Linked DNA regions of Homo sapiens: region 1 is linked to region 2. Evidence: promoter capture Hi-C in 16 types of primary human blood cells and fetal thymus (Javierre and others, 2016). All regions are on one chromosome and are shown on one strand. The core of a region is centred on a gene start or on the middle of the fragment in contact, and the rest is flanking DNA. Distances in the headings are between cores, read along the strand shown.

Region 1 (2,700 bases), core at 67-2,566, 2.8 Mb before region 2:
AAGCCAGGCAGCCCGTTGGGCGCCGCGGCGTGGTGCTCCGGCAGCGAGCCGTCGGGGGAGCCGGCGGGCGTGGAGGCCGCGCTGCGCGGGCTGCCCTGCAGCGCGCTCTCGGGGCTCAGCGTCTCCACCTTGGTGATGACCGGCAGCGCCGGGGACGCCGCCTCGCTCTTGATCACCACCTTCTTCTCGGCCTCCTTGGGGGCGTCCGCTAGGTGGGGGGTGGCCGGGGCGCCCTTGGACGCCGCCGGGGGCGGCTCCTTGAGGTGGGCCCGCTCCTCCTTCTCCTTGGACACGTCCTTCTTTTTGAAGCGCCGCCGGCGCCGCAGGAAGCTGCCGTTCTCGAACATGTTGTAGGAGTCCGGGTCCAGGGTCCAGTAACTGCCCTTGCCGGGCTTCTTGTCGTCGCGGGGCACCTTGACGAAGCACTCGTTGAGCGAGAGGTTGTGGCGGATGCTGTTCTGCCAGCCCTGCTTGTTCTCCCGGTAGAAGGGGAAGCGGTCCATGATGAACTGGTAGATGCCGTTCAAGGTGATCTTCTTCTCGGGCGCGTTCTGGATGGCCATGGTGATGAGCGCGATGTAGCTGTAGGGCGGCTTCACCAGGTCCTTAGGCGCCGCGGGCTGGTGGTGGTGGTAGGGCGCGTAGGAGCGGCCCATCCCCGCGCTGTACTGCTCCGGGTGGCCGGAATAGACGCCCATGGGGCTGGCCATGCCGCCGTAGCTGCCCGCAGCCCGGTAGTAATTCTGCTCGCTCAGGTAGGGCACCACTCCCAGGGCGTTGGGGTCGGACACGGAGTAGCGCGCCTGCATGCTGCTTCCGAGACGGCTCGCCGGCGCCCTCGCGCACGGACTGCGGCCGGGGGAGCGAGGGGGGCCCTGAGAGCGAGAGAGCGCGAGAGAGCCAGAGGGGGAGAGGAGGGGAGCGGGAGGGGCGGCCCCGGGCTCCTGGCAGCCTCCGGGGCGAGGGTGCGCGGGCGGCGGCGCTCGGGCCGAGCAGGGGCGCGCGCTTTCAGCGGACCGGGCGGATCGGCATCCTGGAGGGCGCGCCCCGGGCAAGCGCAGCGCCGGCCCCGCTCCTCGCTGGCTCCAGGACCCGGCGGCGGCAGCGCGGGCAGGCGGGCGGCCGCGGACCCAGCGGAGACGCCGCGGCCTGGGGACCCAGGTGGACCCTCGGCCCGCGCGAGGAGGGGCGCAGGAGGCTCTCCAAGCCCCCAGCGAATCGGCAGCCCCGAGGGTCAGCGCGCCGGGGTCCGAGCGGCTGCCCCGCTGAGCCCAGAAAAAGAGGCCAAGTCCCTTTTAGGGATTGGGAAAAGTTTCAAAAGTCTTCTTGCTGAAAGCGAGTTTTTACTTTCCTCGGGCCACGCCCCCTCCCGGAACTTTGAGCCAATCACCCGGCAGCTGAGAGGAGTCGGCGCCAATCGGGGCGAGGAGCGCAGGAATCCGTCGGCTCTAAGACCCCGCCGCCCCGGCCTCCGCGGCGACTCCGTCTTCACTTGAAAACTTTTTAAAAAGTTATATCTTATTAAAATTTATTTTATGATCACATTTTGGTGAATGGGCCCACATGCCCAAAACAAAAAGATAGCCACTTTCCTCTGTTAAAAAAAATCAATTTGAAATATAAAATAGAATGGATTAATAGAGTAAAATATCTCTCCCAAAGACCTTGTAAGTAGCAATGATCCTGGGACATTTTTCTTATTAATGAGTGATGAAGCGAATAATTAGATTTCCTAATTATGGGGGCCCAGGTGTAATGGATTCAAAGCAAACGCGCTGGATTGGAATGGCAGGGCCTCTCCTGGATGTTATACTTATTTAATCAAATAATTAATCATCAACAGGGAGTTTCCAGGCTCGGGGTCGTCAAGGATAACCTATCGAGGTTTTAGAGGTAAACCCTACAAACTGAGTTTCCCTCGCTCCCCGCCGAGGAGCCAGGCAGCGGAGTGCATAGAGGGGAAGGTAGCAACGTGCTGACTGACAACTTAATCCTCCGAATTCGCGGGGAATTCGGTAGATCATCCGCGTCGCTGCGAGCAGTTTTGTGGGGTTTGGGGAAAAGGGTGAAGTGACTCTGCTATTTCCCCCTTTCGTCTCCCGCGTGGACACTCGCAGCCTACCAACTTCAGCTTCGAAACTCGTCTCCCTTTTCCCAGGTAGAAATTCCCTCTAACAAGCTGACCCCGCACTCCCAGAAGACCGGGACAATGCAGCGACCCACCCGGGCCAGGCAGAGCCGAGTTCCTGGGCCCTGCGAGGAGAAACCCGAGCCTGTTTTCCGCGGGGGCTTGGCTCGAAGGCGCGCGCAATGAGCGCCGCGCACCGCGGGCACCAAGCGTGGACGTTTCCCGTGGCCCAGGCCGGCGCCGGCCGCTAACACCGACCCTAGGGCGCTGTCCCTGCCTCCTGCTCCTGGCAACGTCCCCCTGGGAGCCTCCAAGTTGCTTTTCTATATTTCAGCCTTTTTTTTGTTTTGTTGGGTGGGTAGGGTGAGTTAGGGAGCGCGCTCCGTGGGAAGACTGGGTGAGCGGTTGATTGCAAACGGTTCAAGATCCCTTCGGGATGATATTATTCGGCAGGCAGACCTGGAGCGACTTGGATCTCCTTCAAGGATTTCTCCTTCCCTCTAGGAATCCCGGACAGTTTGTTTATTTGTGGACTGATTATTTATTCCTTCCACACCTCAATAATCAGATCC
Region 2 (2,700 bases), core at 79-2,578:
AGTGCTGAAGTTAAAGACAACGCGTGCCAACATCTCATTGAGCCTTTTTCCTCCCGTCCCTGCAGACTACAGCCTTAAACACAACGACTTTAGGGAAACTGGTCTTCCAATTTTCTTTCGACACTGTTACACGCTGGTGGGTAAGAGTACAGGACTGTGGGGCATGGCTACCCCGCATCGGATTCCAGCCCTGACCCTTACTAGTGATGGAACCCCTAAACCTCAATTTATTCATTTGCTAAAGATGATAACACTACAACCCACTCATAAGGTCATGCTGAGCATCAAAAGACACACACAAAAGCGCTTAGTTCACAGTGCATGGTCCACCACACCAGCTATTAGGATTGGTAGACGTATGCTCCTTGAGCCAGGAGTCTAACTCAGCTTTGCCCCTAGCTCTCGGCGCAGTCCTTCTCAGAAACACAGTACAATCCAAGCTCAAATTCTACAAGTGAATGGCTGAAGCTAGCCTGAAAACTACTCATTTATCCCCACCACTGCCCGGCAAATAGGCTCCAAAGGCCCACAGGAGGCCGACTGCAGATAAAAAGGATATTTCTCCCAATGATCTGGTCAGACATGGTCTGAAATTTATCTTGCATCTGCTGCAGGAGTGTCTGCACCTAAGAAAAACCGAAACAAACAAACACGGTCCACATCGATCCTGAGACAACTTCCTGGGATCAGGACGCAAGCCCTGGTCCCGGGGTTCCAGCCCCATTTCTGCCTCTGGACAGCTGTGCGGCCTTCAGCAAGATCTTCCTTCTCTGGGCTTCCGTTTTCCAACCTGTCCAATTAGACTGCTGGGCTGGGGAGGCCGCTGCGACTCAAAGCTCAGGGTCTTTAGGTTGTTTCTGCCGGGCTGGGGCACCCGGGGGTGTGTGAGGAGTTGAAGGGCGGGGAGGGTGTCAGAGGTAGGCGGGAGGGACCCGGAGGGCGTTCGCGACAGATGAATGGGGCTACTGGAAGGGGTCGGGCTTGGGGGCGCCCGCGGGGAGACTGGCCCGCACCGAGCGCCCCGGGGGTCAAGGTGGCCGGGAGCCTCGGCCAGAGACGCTTCCAGAAACGGGGCCTCGGCAGACGCCACGCGCGGCCGCGGTGGGCGCGCCTCTGTCCAGCAGGGCTTGGCCCGGCGCCGCCCGGGAAGGCCGCGGCCTCCGGCCCTCACAGCCGTCCCTTACCACCGAGGTGAGGTCCTGCACGGTCTTGGGGTCAGTCTCGGCCATCTCCCCGATGCCCAGCTTGGCGGTGATGTCTCAGACCGTAACCTACACTTCCGTTTGTCCGCTCAGTCGCCCCGGGCCGCTGCTTCTCGCGACGAGACTGGCAGCTCGCGGGACCGCGGGGCATTATGGGAGTAGTAGTTTCTCCCGCACCGGAAGGGCCTCGAGGCCGCGCGCTTCCGTTCCAAGGAGCGGCCCCACCCCACTCTCCCCGCCTTCTTTCGCATAGCCCCTCCCCTCCCTCTATGCCCCGCCCCTCACGCAGCGCGCCGTCAGTGGGGTGGAAAGTGAGACCAACTCAGAAATGGAGCAATAGAGGCAGGGAGTGGTCTTGGCCTCTCTTCCAGGCTGTAGTCAGTCGAAAGACGGCTCTGGGGTTTCTTTGGCCTGTCGGGACGAACTTACAGAACTTTTGCCCTTCAACAAGCCCCACTGTACCCTTGTAACTGCCCCCAAGCCAAGGAACATGACCCACCCCTACCCGCCCCGGGAGCCCCATGGCTCCTGTCCTGTTCTGTCATCTCCACCCTATGAAGGTGGCCAGCGTCTGGAGTTTAGCCCAGTAGGTTCATTGTGCCCGTCAGGTTCATATGAGGGGATTCAGACAGGAAGCTGTCCATCATGCCTGGCTTCTTTCACTCCACGCAATGCCTGCTGTTGAGTGGGGAAGGCTTCCGGCATCAGGGTTAGACTGTGGGTTTGGGTGTTGAAGGAGGTGGGCACTGCTGATTTGGAACCTCAAGTTCCAACCCCACAGGTGGTCTTTAGGATTGGGTCTCATGGCAAGGGGATAGGAGAGTCCTTGACTGCGGGCCTGGCATGTTCTGGAAACTTTCACACATCTCATTTAAGGACTGTGCTATGTGAGGGGTCAGCTCCAGTTTGACTTTAGCTAGGGAGAGGCTGTAAGGTGTTAGAGCTGTTACGGGAAAGGGTCCTGATCCAGACCCCAAGAGAGGGGGTTCTTGGATCTCATGCAAGAAAGAATTCAGGGCGAGTCTGTAAAGTGAAAGCAAGTTTAAGAAAATGAAGGAATAAAAGAATGGTTACTCCATAGACAGAGCCCTGAGGGCTGCTGGTTGCTCATTTTTATAGTTATTTCTTGATTATATGCTAAACCAGGGGTGGGTGATTCATGCCTCCCCTTTTTAGACTATATAGCGTAACTTCTTGACGTTGCCATGGCATTTGTAAACTGTCATAGCGGTAATGGGAGTGTAGCAATGAAGACAAGCAGGGTTCACTCTTATTGCCATCTTGGTTTTGGTGGGTTTTGGCCGGCTTCTTTACCGCAAGCTGTTTTATCAGCAAGGTCTTTATGACCTGTACCTTGTGCTGACCTCCTATCCCATCCTGTGACTTAGAATCCTTTAACTGTCTGGGAATGCAGCCCAGTAGTTCTCAGCCTCAGTTTACCCAGCTCCTATTCGAGATGGAGTTGCTCTTGTTCAAACGCCTCTGCCAGACCCACCAG

What was found. The method cuts DNA at HindIII sites, captures the fragments that hold promoters and counts their contacts. A CHiCAGO score of 5 or more calls a contact.
Region 1: a contact is called between the fragment with the promoter of FOXC2 here and the fragment with the promoter of HSBP1 in region 2, in 6 of 17 cell types (total CD8 T cells, naive CD4 T cells, total CD4 T cells and 3 more). The highest score is 10.8, in total CD8 T cells.

Annotation. Positions count from the first base shown.
Region 1 is chr16:86,565,445-86,568,144 of GRCh38, reverse strand. FOXC2 (forkhead box C2) reads right to left here and starts at 1,316. Exons shown (of 1, transcript NM_005251.3): 1 at 1-1,316. The coding sequence starts at 809. FOXC2-AS1 (FOXC2 antisense RNA 1) reads left to right here and starts at 384. Exons shown (of 2, transcript NR_125795.1): 1 at 384-528. RefSeq lists enhancers at 13-596, 597-1,181. The HindIII fragment of the contact is 11,287 bases long and covers 1-2,700 here.
Region 2 is chr16:83,806,606-83,809,305 of GRCh38, reverse strand. HSBP1 (heat shock factor binding protein 1) reads right to left here and starts at 1,328. Exons shown (of 4, transcript NM_001537.4): 1 at 1,185-1,328; 2 at 560-626; 3 at 1. The coding sequence starts at 1,229. RefSeq lists silencers at 892-1,181, 1,199-1,375 and an enhancer at 1,033-1,534. The HindIII fragment of the contact is 4,790 bases long and covers 1-2,700 here.